2 separate regions of the Homo sapiens genome follow, and region 2 is linked to region 1. Evidence: promoter capture Hi-C in human tissues and cell types (Jung and others, 2019). All regions are on one chromosome and are shown on one strand. The core of a region is centred on a gene start or on the middle of the fragment in contact, and the rest is flanking DNA. Distances in the headings are between cores, read along the strand shown.

Region 1 (6,714 bases), core at 1,585-4,084:
AAATTTTTCTGCAATTTCAGCTCCATCACCTTCACTTCCATTAATTCCCCTTTTTTCCACTTCAGCTTTTGCAATTTCCCAGAGAGTTTCACTACATGAGAGGCAGAAAAAACAAAATTGAGGGAAAAAGAATTCTTTCAAATATTTATTTCAAGCTCAGAGAAATTTTATTTCAGTATAATTTATGAAACAAATGAACATTATTTTCTGAGGAACAATAATCTGGTAAAACATCTGAGGATTAGTCATTCTATGATTTTATTTTTCTTTTGTTGCTTTGAACTAGTTCTCTGAAGAATACTGAAATTGATAAGCAGAGCCTTTATTGCCAGGATTTGAGGCTGTCACATTTGGGTCTTCCCCTACGGTTCATAGCTGTGTATGTCAGCTTCTCAGACACATATGGAGGTACAATGACTTTGGGAATGTACAACTTGAAAACCACAAACATTTAAGTCACCTAGGAAGATGGGAAAAGTACAAAACCAGTGTATCAAATAATCTTTCCTCCCTGAAACATTTCTTTTTTGTGTTTTAGATTATGTTTTTAGGTAAAAAAAAATTTTGTTTAATATAAAAGTATATGGGAGGCTGAGGCAGGAGGATCACTTGAGATCAGCCTAGGCAATACAGGAAGATCCCATCTCTACTACTGCTACTACTACTACTACTACTAATAAATTAGCATGGGGGAGGGATAGCATTAGGAGAAATACCTAATGTAAATGATGAATTAATGGGTGCAGCAAACCAACATGGCACATGTATACATATGTAACAAACCTGCACGTTGTGCACATGTATCCTAGAACTTAAAGTATAAAAAAAGAAGAAGAAGAAAAGAAAACAAACAAAAAAAATTGGCTGAGGCTGGGAGTGGTGGTTCACACCTGTAATCCCAGCACTTTAGGAGGCCAAGGTGGGTGGATCACTTGAGGTCAGGAGTTCAAGACCAGCCTGGCCAACATGGTAAAACCCCATCTCTACTAAAAAAAAAAAAAAAAAAAAAAAAAAAAAATTGGCCAGGTGTGGTGGCGGGTGTCTGTAACTCCAGCTACTCAGGAGGCTGAGGCATGAGAATCACCTGAACTCAGGAGGTGGATGTTGTATTGAGCCAAGATCGTGCCACTGCACTCCAGCCTGGGCAACAGAGCGAGACTCTGTCTAAAAAAAAAAAAAAGAAAATAAAAAAAGAAAAAGAAAAGAAATTAGCTGGGTGTGGTGACATGCACTCGTGGTCCCAGCTACTAGGGAGGCTGAGGCAGGAGGATTGCCTGAGCCCTGGAGGTCGAGGCTGCAGTAAGCATGTTGACATCACTGCACTCCAGCCTGGGTGACACAGCAAGACCTTGTCTCCCCCCGCCAAAAAAAAACCATAAAGAAAGAAAGAAAAAAAAACCCTAAAACCACAAACATTTTGAAAACAATCCTTTCATTGATTTCTTTACACAGATATATAACTTTACACGATAAAATCATATATATATTAATTAAAGCCTAAGTGAAAATGGAATATTAAACTAAAAACTAACCATGGGCAAGACCTGATAGGTCCTAGCCTGATTCTGCTACTTCCTATGTATGTGAACTTGGGAAAACTACCTAACCTCTTTAAATCCTTCATTCCTTTATTAATTAAACAAATATTTATTGAGCACCTAATATATGCAATCCTCTGTGCTATTCCCCAGGCTCAATTGTTTCTCTATCTCTAAAAAGCCAATAAAAAAGAGTATCAGCTTTATAGGATTGTCATAATTGTTAAAATATATATGTAGTTTAGGGCATGGCCTATACAATTACAAAAATTATTGAGGGCTTGTAATTATACTATTCAAGAACCAGGAATAAGAAAAAGGGTCAAAACAGGAGTCCTTAAATGTTTGCACTAAAATTCATGCATTTATTTCACAGGTGAGCCTTCAGAACTCAGTTTCGGGCTGTTTGCTCTTCATTTACACAACATTCTTTCAAAATATGAGGATCTGCTTTCCAAATACCTAGCAGAGAGGAAAGACGGAGGTGCTGCAGTCAGCCACGACACCTGCGGAAATCGGGAAGTATAACCATAGCTTTATAACTAACCAATTATCCCTTGATGGAAAGCTGACAATTCTCCACACTATCCCAAGGAGAGAAAAAGATTTATCCTGCTCTGTGATGCACTCCCTGACCCCTCTCCCCGACGTGCTTAAGCATAAATTGTTGAGAAAAGGTTTAGGAATATCTTGTGAACAGGTAATTAAAATGAATATCATAGAATTGAACAGCTAGAATATAGTTTACAAACCCTCTCCCGTTTCCCCCCTTAAAAGTGATGTTATACTTTCCACAGTGCCTTCCAAGTTTCCCCTCGCTTATTACTGCGAACCCCCGCACCAGGAGGGGAGGCCCCTGGGGAGAGGAGGCTTTGTGGTCTAGCTCATCGCCGAATGTCCTGCTCCGGAAGTAGTCTCTGGCCTGCAAGAAACTTTTATTCAATCATTGAATGGGTGGAGTTGCTGATCTTTCCAAATCTCTCACTTTTCTACCTAGGGAACTTTCTTTTCTTTCCTGTTTGCGGCAGAATCTTTATGCTCAAGGCTGATTCCTAGGTCCCCGACCCTGCATATCCTGGTGGCAAGTAGCCACCCCCACAATCTTCCAACAGCTGGTCCCGCCTGGGCTTCCTCTCTCCAGGAATACTCTCAGTAGCCTTTCCCACGCAAGCCGGGTTCAGGGAATACCTGGGCATCGTCGACGGCCTGGCTGCCGCAAACGTCACAGGCTCGGAGTAGTGACCAGCCTAGAATCAGGCGGCGAGCTCCGCAAGGAGTCTGGGAGTGAGGCCTTCTGGGTTGCCATGGGAGCGACGTCGCGGCCGCGGTTGCGTGGGGAGACGGGCATCATGGGAAATGTAGTTTTCAGGAGTCCTTTTACATCTCATTCTCGGCCTCAAGCCTTAGGATTGCTTTTAGATCCCAAGTTAGTAACTCCTTGTTACCTCCTAGAACGAGATGATAAGGGGTTACAAACCTGGGATCTAAAAGCAATTTTCTTTTATTTTAAAATTTTTTTACTGGGTGTCAACTATATGCCAAGGGTCTCTGCTCTCTCTCTCTCTCATCTTTCACTTTTTTCTTCCCAATCGCCATGATTTAGGAATAGAGGGTGTAACAATCTCTTGAGCTGTTTTCTGCTAATTTACTAGAAGCAAGGAATATTCGGACTTTAAAATTTAAAATAAGGCACGTAATTTTAATATTTTCCAACTTTCTAGATGTTTAGTTGTTTCAAGTTTTATTCAATAGCACATTGTGTATTTATTAATAAATTAATGAAGCAAGTGCATCTCCTACATACTTCATTTACTTTGTGAATGTAGATTATTTTCTTTTGGAACTTTGTGGTCTCTTTATAGATCTGCAGGAGTGTCCAAATAAATAACGAGCATTGAAATAAATAACAATCATTGAATATGCAAGGCCCTATGCTACACAGAATAAGGAATAAAGAGATGAGTAAGAAAAGATCGCTGCCCTTAAGAAAGACACACACTCAGCTAATTATAAGCACCTAAGGAAGTGAGTGATCTAAACTATTGTATAGAGGTACAAAAATTGCATGAGGGCAAGTGACCAATTATGCCTGAAGGAGATGGTGAAACCATGGCACTGATAGTATTTGGTCTGTATTGAATGCTGAGTAGACTCAGGCTTTCTAGCCTAAGATGCCCTGAATATTTGAAGGAGATACCCTCCCTCCAGTCCTCTACTATTCGGCTTGATTTCTATGGTGCGATGTTCAAGTACATGGGCTTTGGCGTGAGATGGACCTAGGTTCAAGTTCTGACTTGGCCACGCTGGCTAAGTTGTCACATTGCCACATCGGGTAAATCACTGAATTTCTGATCCTGTAAAGCGGGAAAGATTGTGAATCTTAAATGAGATAAATGTAGGTAAAACATAACTTACGTGGGTGTCTGACACATTATAACTGCTTAATGCTTGTTATTATTGTGTGATAAGCTGCTGGTCAGCAACTTCGAACAAAGAAACACAAGGAACACATTCCTGGAAACAAGGCTGATGGTTGATAAAAGGGTGTTTATTTCAAATAAAGTCATTGGGAACAAAATCCTCCCAACACCTAGGTATATTTTGGAGACGTAAAGAACACTAAGCTGCACATAGGAAGGGAATTAATGGGAGTAGAGCTCACCGAAGAAAGGATGATTTTTCAAAGGAGGCTTATACATCTGTCATTGAATCAACAGCTATAGCCTGGTGCTAAGCCAGACTTTAAGCTCACAAACTGATATGGGACAGATTGTAATGAATTGTAATGATTTGGGTTCTAGAACTTCAGAATACTTTTGCATGCTAGTTAGGAAGGCCTGTTGATATTGATAGCAATAACGACAGCTAACATTTTTGCCAAGTGCTTGCTATGTACTGGGCACAATACTCAGTACGAGTACTTCAAAAGTACACTTGTTTGAATAACGGGGAGAGGTGTTTGAAGGAGGGAGCTTGGTAACCAGGAAAGTGAAGGTGATCCGGCTGGGCCCTGATCAGCAGCATTGATTCAGGGTTGATTCAGTTGATCTGACTGAGCAGGTGAGTTCCCCTTTCTTCCCTCATTCCTCTTGAGGCCTTCATACTTGGGCAAAGAAAGTGACTTTCCTGGGTAGATGAAGATTGTTCTTAAGGTAAGAATGGAAGGAGAAGGAGACAATTTTATGCTGCTTTCTGGATGGAATGAGCAACAGTGCAGAAGGGTAAAGGCGTGTGCAGGATGTATTTGGGAAACTGAATAGTTTGGGTTGCGATCATATAAAGTGCCTGGTGGAGCTACAGTGGAAGAGCAAACTGGGCAGGTAGATGGGGCTACTGTGAAGGATGCTGTAGTCTAGACTTTACTGTGTTGGTTATGAGAAACCAAATAGGGTTTAAAAATAGGAGTGTGCCATGATTAGACATGAATTTCAGTGAGATAATTTTTTGCAGTTGTGTGAAGGGTGGTTTGGCATCTAGAAGACCATGCGGAGGCTATTAACAATAGCTAGGAAAGTGACAGGCAGAGTTTTAAAATTTTTTCCCTTGTTTTCAAAGTTATATAAGCTAATTGTAGGGGAAAAAACGTATGCACAGAAAATTAAGAGGGTAAAATAAGCATAAGCCAGAAGTAGTAACTATTAGGTATTTTGGAAATACATTTGATATGTTTCATTCTAATCTTTTTTCTTACAAAGTTGAGATTAATTGTAAAGTTAATTAATGTCCTGATTTTAACATGTATTTCCCCATATCAAATTTTAAAAATGCACCATATCAAATTTTAAAACTGCATCATAAACATAACTTTGATGGTTGCAGAATATTTCACTGCATAGATTTTTCGTAATGTACTTAAGCATTCTCCTAATGTTGAGTACATTTGGGGTGGTTCAGAGTGAACACCTAACATGAGCTGGGTTAATCACAGTCCTTCCCTGAAATTTTTCAAACTAGAATTGGGAAAAGTAAGTCACTCTACCTCTAGAGGAAATTAGCATATTTTATGCTAAATGAATTATTTTGTAGTTAGTGAGCACACATCAGACACACATCAATATGAAGGGAAAGTGCTGGCATATGTCTCATGGTTCTAATTGTCCCTAAGGCTTGCCTGTGTCCTCACCTTTCTTATGGCTTGGTTGTTCAGCTTGCTCTTTGATTATATGAGACATCCTAATATCCTTGTAATACAATTTCTCATTTTTGTCTAAGCTAGTTCAAGTTGAATTTTGGAATTTACAGCAAAAAGAGTTCTATCTAATACAATTACTAGACAGTAGAAAGTAAGACGTTGGTAAAAGGGAGAAAAGTCAATGTTTCCTTCTTGATGGATGAACTGGTGATCCTCTTAACCAATTTTAAGGGGCACAGAGCAGGAGAAGCAGGTTTAGAGGACATGGTGAGTTTGAGATATCGTCCAGCAGACAGTTGGACCATTTGGGGTCTGCTGGACTTGGCAGTTAAGTGGTCAGTGATAACCTCATGTGAAGATGTTTCGATAGAATAGTCAGTACATGAAAGCAGTGTTGATGATACCCTATCCCTGAGTGGAACATCTTATAATCTGTACATGATCCAAAACCCAAGAACTCTCCACAAGCTTTCCTAAGGTTACACTTTCTGTAAACTTTTCTCTCATAAAAGGCAACTCTTATTGGGTTTGATAGCATTTTCCAGAAACTCAAGAAGTTAATAACATCTAAGCCATTTCCTCTGGTATCACCCAATATTCAGTTCCTAGGAGCTCCTGGGAATTCATTAGAGCCACATAGTGAGAGAGGGAATTAGCCTTCTTTTGCCACTGCCACTGCTAAAGAAGAGTTGTTTGATTTTCATAAAACCACAGTATAACCTAGCAGCACGTTCAGAAAGAGCGGCCCTTCCCCTCCCACCCCCACTCTGTTTATTAGAAAATTATGTTGGCAGGCCGGGCACGGTGGCTAACGCCTGTAATCCCAGCACTTTGGGAGGACAAGGCGGGCAGATCATCTGAGATCAGGAGTTCAAGACCAGCCTGACCAACATGGTGAAACCCCGTCTCTACTAAAAATACAAAAAATTAGCCGGGCGTGGTGGCAGGCGCCTGTAGTCCCAGCTACTGCAGAGGCTGAGGCGGGAGAATGGCGTGAACCCGGGAGGCGGAGCTTACATGAGCCGAGATGGCGCCACTGCACTC
Region 2 (6,714 bases), core at 2,735-5,234, 190 kb after region 1:
TCATTTATTTTTCCTTTTTTTTTTTTTTTTTTTTTTAATTGAGACAAGCTCTGGCTCTGTCACCCAAGCTGGAGTGCAGGATTTTGGCTCACTGCAATCTCTGCCTCCCAAGCCCAAGTGATCCTTCCACCTCAGCCTCTGGAGTAGCTGGGCCCACAGACGTCCGCCACTATGCCCTGTTTTTTATATTTTTGGTAGAAATATGGTTTTACCGTGTTGCCCTGGCTGGTTTCAAACTCTTAAGCGCAAGCAGTCCCCCTGCCCCAGTCCCCCAAAGTGCTGGGATTACAGGCGTGTTTTCGAGGGTCTTCCACGTTTGTAGCATATATCAGAATTTCATTCCTTTTTGTGGCCGAATAATATCCCATTGTATGTTTAGACCACATGTTAATCAATCTGTCGATGGACAATTTGATCTGTTTCTACCTTTAGGCTATTGTGAATAATGCTGCTATAAACATTGATATACAAGTATATCTTTGAGTCTCTGCTTTTAGCTCTTTTGGGTATATACGTAGGAGTGGAATCATAAGATAATTCTATATTTAACTTTTTGAGGAACTACCAAGTTGTTTTTCCTAACTTTTGCCTTAATAGGATTATTCTGTGTTTTGCTGTGTTGAGAACTGAGAGGTAAGGACAGAAGCTGCGAGAGACCAGTTAGGAGGCTATGGCAATAACCCAAGGGAGAGATGAGAGTGGCTCAGGCCAAGATGTAGCAGTGGAGTTGGTCTGATTCTAGATGTATTTTGAAGGTAGAACCAACAGGATTTTCTTATAGATGAGATGGAGAGGAGAGGTGGCAAGGATGATTACAATGTTTTTGTAGGATAAAGATGCAGCAGGTACAGCAGATTTGGAGTTGAAGATAAGTTCACTCATTTAGAGATGTCTGTTAGACATCCAAGTAAAAATATCAGGAAGTTAGATATACCAGAAAGGAATTAGACAGAGAGGTCTGGGTTAGAGATAAAAATTTGGGAATTATCAGCATGTAGATTATAATTTAAAGCTGATGAGCTAAAAGAGATCAGCAAAGGAGAGAATTAGATGGAGAAAAGAAGAGGAATAAAGACTGAGTCCTGGACATTCCTAACATAAAAAGATCAGGGAGAAGAGGATGAATTAGTGAAGGTATCCGAGAAGGAGTGCTGGTGAAGTAGGGGAAAATCTGCGAGAGCCTGGCATTTTAGAAGTCAGGGAGAGGCTGGGCATGGTTGTTCACGCCTGTAATCTCAGCACTTTGGGAGGGCGAGGCAGGTGGATCACTTGAGGTCAGGAGTTTGAGACCAGCCTGGCCAACATGGTGAAACCCCTGTCTCTACTAAAAATATAAAAATCAGCTGGGCATGATGGCTTGCTTGTAATCCCAGCTACTTGGGAGGATGAGGCAGGAGAATCGCTTGAACCCGGGAGGTGGAGGTTGCAGTGAGCCCAGATTGCACCACTGCACTCCAGCCTGGGTGACAGAGGGGGAGACTCTGTCTCAAAAAAAAAAAAAAAAGCCAGGGAGGGAAAATATATCAATGTTGAGAGAGTGTTCAAGTTTGTAAGTTATGTCATTTTTTTTTTTTTTTAAGATGGTGTCTTGCTCTCTCACCCAGGCTGGAGTGCAGTAGTGCCATCTCGGCTCACTGCAGCCTCCACCTCTGGGGTTCAAGCGATTCTCCTGCCTCAGCCCCCTGAGTAGCTGGGATTACGGGCATGTGCCACCACACCTGGCTAATTTTTGTATTTTTACTAGAGACATGGTTTCGCCATGTTGGCCAAGCTGGTCCCAAACTCCAGACCTCAAATGATCTACCTGTCTCGGCCTACCAAAGTGCTGGGATTACAAGTGTGAGCCACTTCGCCCAGACTGAGTTCTGTCATTCATTCTTGATTTCTTATCTTTGCCCTAAAAGAAGTGAAGTTAGTTATTGGCTGAGAAAGAGGGACATGTAGATTAAGTTAACAGTGTTGAAAGTTTGCAATTAATGTCTACATAATTGGAATGTTTATAGGAATGGAAGAGAGAGGAATAAATTATCATAATTTAAAATTGATTTTGGGCCTTTGAGGAATGTATTTATTTTGCTGATAATTAGAAATGTTCACACTTTTGTTTGAATTTCCTTTTGTAATAATGTCTTTTCTTCTTTATAGAAAATGTGCTGGAAATCATATTATTCAAACACAGTTGATGAATGACTTACTGGTAGGCATTAGAGTTTCAATGATGTTAGTACAGAAAGTACAAGATTTCCAGGGAAATCTTTGGAAGACTTCCGATTCTCCCATATGGCAAAATATGTGTGGATTGCTGAGTATTTTTACCAAGGTTTTAAGCGATGGTAAGTGTAACAAATTATATACAAATGATATATAATTGACAGTTAAAATTGAGTGTCAATCAGCTTTTCCTACTAATAGTGTGAAATGTGATACTTAACTGAGATGTGGAATGTGTCCTTACTCAGCCTCTCAAAAATGGAGGGAGGCCCTGGACTACATGGTTTTTTTTTTTTTTCTTTTCTTTTTTTTTTTTTTTGAGACCGAATCTCACTGTGCTGCCCAGGCTGGAGTGTAGTGGCGTGATGTTTATTCACTGCAACCTCTGCATGTTGGGTTTCACATCCCAGGTTCAAGCGATTCTCGTGCCTCCGCTTCTGAGTAGCTGGGATTATAGGAGGGTACCACCACACCTGACTAATTTTTTGTATTTTTAATAGAGAAAGGGTTTTGCCATGTTGGCCAGGCTGTTCTGGAACTCCTGGCCTCAAGTAACCTGCTTACCGTGGCCTCCCAAGGTGCTGGGATTACAGGTGTGAGCCACTGTGCCCAGCCTGGGTGACTGAGTTCTATTTCTTGCCTTGGAAGATAGGTTCAAGGGTGATCACTTTTTAATAATTTATTAAGCTGTAAATTTGTTTTCTGTCACTTTTTTGGAATCTGTGGTTTATTATTATAATAAGATTAACGAAAAAGTGACACCTAACACAAGTATTTATATAAAAAGTTGAATTATCCTTTCTCTCTTCACCTCCCATTCTATATGGTAATATATGTTTGAATGTAACTTAATTAAAAACATGCTAATGGGATCTCTTTAGAGCTCTTGTTAGTGAAAAACAATAACTGACTCTGGTTTTGCTAGGCTGATTGGAAGACAATAGCATCTCATTGTTTGTGTTTTTTGGTTTTTTTTTTTGTCTGAGATGGAGTCTCTCTTTGTCGCCCACACTGGAGTGCAGTGGCGTGATCTTGGCTCACTGCAACCTCTGCCTCCCAGATTCAAGCGATTTTCTTGCCTCAGCCTCCCGAGTAGCTGGGATTACAGGCATGCACCACCACGCCTGGCTAATTTTTTTTTTGTATTTTTAATATAGACGGGCTTTCACCATGTTGGCCAGGCTGGTCTGGAACTCCTGACCTCAGGTGATCTGCCCGCCTTGGCCTCCCAAAGTGGCTCAGGTGTGAGCCACCGCGCCTGGCCTCATTGTTTGTGTTTTTAACCCTGGTAATGAAAGTCTTAGCTATATTTTGTCCAATTAGTATTTCTATTTCTCTTTTTGCCTGGGTTCTCAGGTATTAAAAGGAAAGGAAAGTAGTTAAAGTTACTTTTATTAAGACATAACTTACAGAAAACTTTTCAGAGGTTATTTACTTTTTAAAAGAGGACTGTGTTAGTCTAAAAAAAAGATTCTCTAACTAATGAAATGTAGAGAATACATGATTTTAATATGAGGTAACTTCGGCCGGGTGTGGTGGCTCATGCCTGTAATCCCAGCACTTTGGGAGGCCAAGGCGGGCAGATCACGAGGTCAGGAGATTGAGACCATTCTGGCCAACATGATGAAATCCTGTCTAAAATACTAAAAAACTAAAATACAAAAAAAAACATTAGCTGGGCGTGGTGGCGTGCACCTGTAGTTCCAGCTACTCGGGAGGCTGAGGCAGGGGAATCAGTTGAACCCGGGAGACAGAGGTTGCAGTGAGCCAAGATCATGCCACTGCACTCCAGCCTGGCAACAGAGCAAGCCTCCGTCTCAAAAAAAAAAAAAAAAAAAGAAGTAGCTTTTTTTCCGAAAAGTTGATGGCACCTAATCAGTACTATTCTTTTCCAGCATTTTAAAGCTTCATAATCAGTAAAGTGTTTAGCTGCAAGTAACTGAAAACCAAACCTCCTTTCCCACATAACAAGTTCAGAGGCAGGTCATCCAGAACTGGTATAGGCAGTGTACGACCCACACATTTTCTGCTTTTCTGCTGTGCCATCTTCAGCAGGTTGGTTTTCACCCACGTTTGTTGCCTCGTGGTTGCCATATGACTGCTGTAGCTCCAGATGTGTCTTTATTCAAGGCAGGAAGAAGGAAGGCCAGTTGCGTCTTTACTTTTGATCAGGATACTCAAGTGACTGGCTTAAATCCAACTGGCCTGAACCCTCTTATATGCCTACCTTTAGTTGCAAAGAAGATTGAAGAAGCAAGTATCCTGCTTTTGGCTGGGCATGTGGCTTCCCCAATCAAAGTCACAGTTTTCTTATCAGTGATGAAGGGCAGAGTGGATATTTAGTACGTAGTTTATGATGTCATAAAGAAGTGTTACTTCTTTCCCCAGGTTGAACAACTCACCATGGTATTAGAGGCTAATAGAGATAAAACAAAAAGAAGATACCAAGTCAAAACTGTTTGGTTGCTATGGGTACAGTGTCAGTGCTAGCAAAGTTTGTAATTAGCACTTACCTACATTCTTTATACAAGCCCTGAAATCTCTTTTTGAAAAAGTCTGTGTATATGGTGATTGGGATACAGAGGCATTGGTGGAGGGGAGGGGACAGGTGGTGTTGCTGTTAGGTGTTTTGGGAAGCAATAGTTGGCGAGGAAGAAAGTGTATGTTAGAGGAGAGAGGAAGGAATCACGTTTATTGAGTATCTATATGCTGGGCTTAAAAGCCTTTATATTCAGCCGGGCACAGTGGCTCATGCCTGTAATCCCAACACTTTGGGAGGCCGAGGCAGGCGGATCACAAGGTCAAGAGATCGAGACCATCATGGCCAACGTGGTGAAACCCCATCTCTACTAAAGATACAAAAATTAGCTGGGTGTGGTGGCACGCGCCTGTAGTCCCAGCTACTTGGGAGGCTGAGGCAGGAGAATCGCCTGAACCCAGGAAGTAGAGGTTGCAGTGAGCTGAGGTCACGCTACTACACTCCAGCCTGTCAACAGAGTGAGACTCCTTCTAAAAAGCGTTTATGTTCATTATTCATCTAAACCTGACACTGCCTCAGTTAAGAGTTATCCCATTTTACCCAAGAGAAAAGAGAGTCTGTGGGATGTTAAATAACTTAGGTAAGACCTATTCACCCAGGAAGTGGTCAGACTAGAAATTGTACCCAGGCCTATCTGGCTGCTCAGCATCTGCTCTTTCCACTCTACCAGAATATTCATTATTTAACACAAGCTTCTCTCCTTTTTTGCCAAATAGATGATCTGTTACAGACTGTACAGAGCACATCTGGATTAGCTATTATTCTTTTTATTAAGACTATGTTTCACCCGTCTGAAAAGATTCCTCATTTGGTAAGTGCATCTCCTTTTTAGAATTGTACTTTATTGAGAGTTAGGGTATGTTTAAAAAATAATTTTGGCTTGGTGCAGTGGCTCACACTTATAATCCCAACACTTTGGGAGGCCAGGGCAGGAGGGTCACTTGAGGCCAGGAGTTTGAGATTAGCCTGGGGAGTTTAGCTAGACCTTGTCTCTACAAAAAAAAAAAAAGAAAATTTGCTGGGTATGGTGGTGCACAGCTGTAGTCCCAGCTCTTTGAGAGGTTGAGGTAGGAGGATCGCTTGAGCCTAGGAGTTTAAGGCTGCAGTGAGATAAGATTGCACCAGTCTGGGCAACAGAGTGAGACCTTGTCTCTTAAAAAAAAAAAAAATTAAAAATATTTTTAAAGAAGTGAATTAAAATAATTTTTTTTTGCATTGTCTGGTTCCTTCTGATGACCTTTTTCTGTTATAATAAGAGACAATTCCAAAAATTCAGATAAAGCAACAATAACAAAAAGACAATAACAGTCACCTGTAAGTCCATCTCACAAAGATAATCACTATAAACATTTTTGATGTACATTCTTTTAGTTTCTTTTTAGTGCTGTTTGTTCAGTGTCATCTCTCATTAGTATCTTAAAAGATATTTTTAATGTTAAAATTATGCATATCAATGTATAGATATATACACAGTAATAACTTTTCTGATAAATGTATTCTTTATTGAGAATAACCCAAATCATGTGCTTTAGACAGGAAGCATGCTAGATAGAGTCAATTGTTCAGTAAATTTGCTTCTTACAGAAAGTATAATTTGATAATTTAGGCCACAATCCTTGTATTTTTTACTAGTAGATTTCTTTTTTTGCTTGCTATATTGTATGGAAACTTATTTTATCTTTTTACCTGACCTTAGAAAAATATATTATGAGATCACACAAAGTAATTATCTTTGGATAAGTCGAAGATGTTTATTTCTCAAATCACCTCTAAAAGCATTTGTTTAAAAAAAAAATACATACCAAAAAAAAAAAGCAGTTGTTAAGCTTATCCACCTGCAGGTGGCGATGTGTTGTGCTCTGCCAGTACATTCCAACCAGCAAAATCATTCTCGTACTTGATGTAATTTTTTTCCTTTAATACTAATACAATAATCATGACATTTGTGGGTATTTTATCTTTGG

What was found. Contacts are between HindIII fragments. The study calls those that stand out against the background at their distance.
Region 2: a contact is called between a fragment that was not itself captured here and the fragment with the promoter of DYNC2LI1 in region 1, in 1 of the 25 tissues and cell types used here (H1 embryonic stem cells).

Annotation. Positions count from the first base shown.
Region 1 is chr2:43,770,159-43,776,872 of GRCh38, reverse strand. DYNC2LI1 (dynein cytoplasmic 2 light intermediate chain 1) reads right to left here and starts at 2,834. Exons shown (of 13, transcript NM_016008.4): 1 at 2,727-2,834; 2 at 1-91. The coding sequence starts at 2,734. It overlaps LOC105374571 (a long non-coding RNA gene), which reads right to left and starts at 2,720. Exons shown (of 2, transcript XR_940033.2): 1 at 2,327-2,720; 2 at 1,881-2,000. It also overlaps the pseudogene RN7SKP66. RefSeq lists an enhancer at 2,899-2,948. The HindIII fragment of the contact is 10,095 bases long and covers 1-6,714 here.
Region 2 is chr2:43,577,360-43,584,073 of GRCh38, reverse strand. THADA (THADA armadillo repeat containing) reads left to right here. Exons shown (of 38, transcript NM_022065.5): 8 at 2,146-2,333; 9 at 5,467-5,561. Among named protein-coding and RNA genes, the nearest start is that of THADA, 15 kb to the left of the region's middle. RefSeq lists a silencer at 1,349-1,568. The HindIII fragment of the contact is 5,407 bases long and covers 1,281-6,687 here.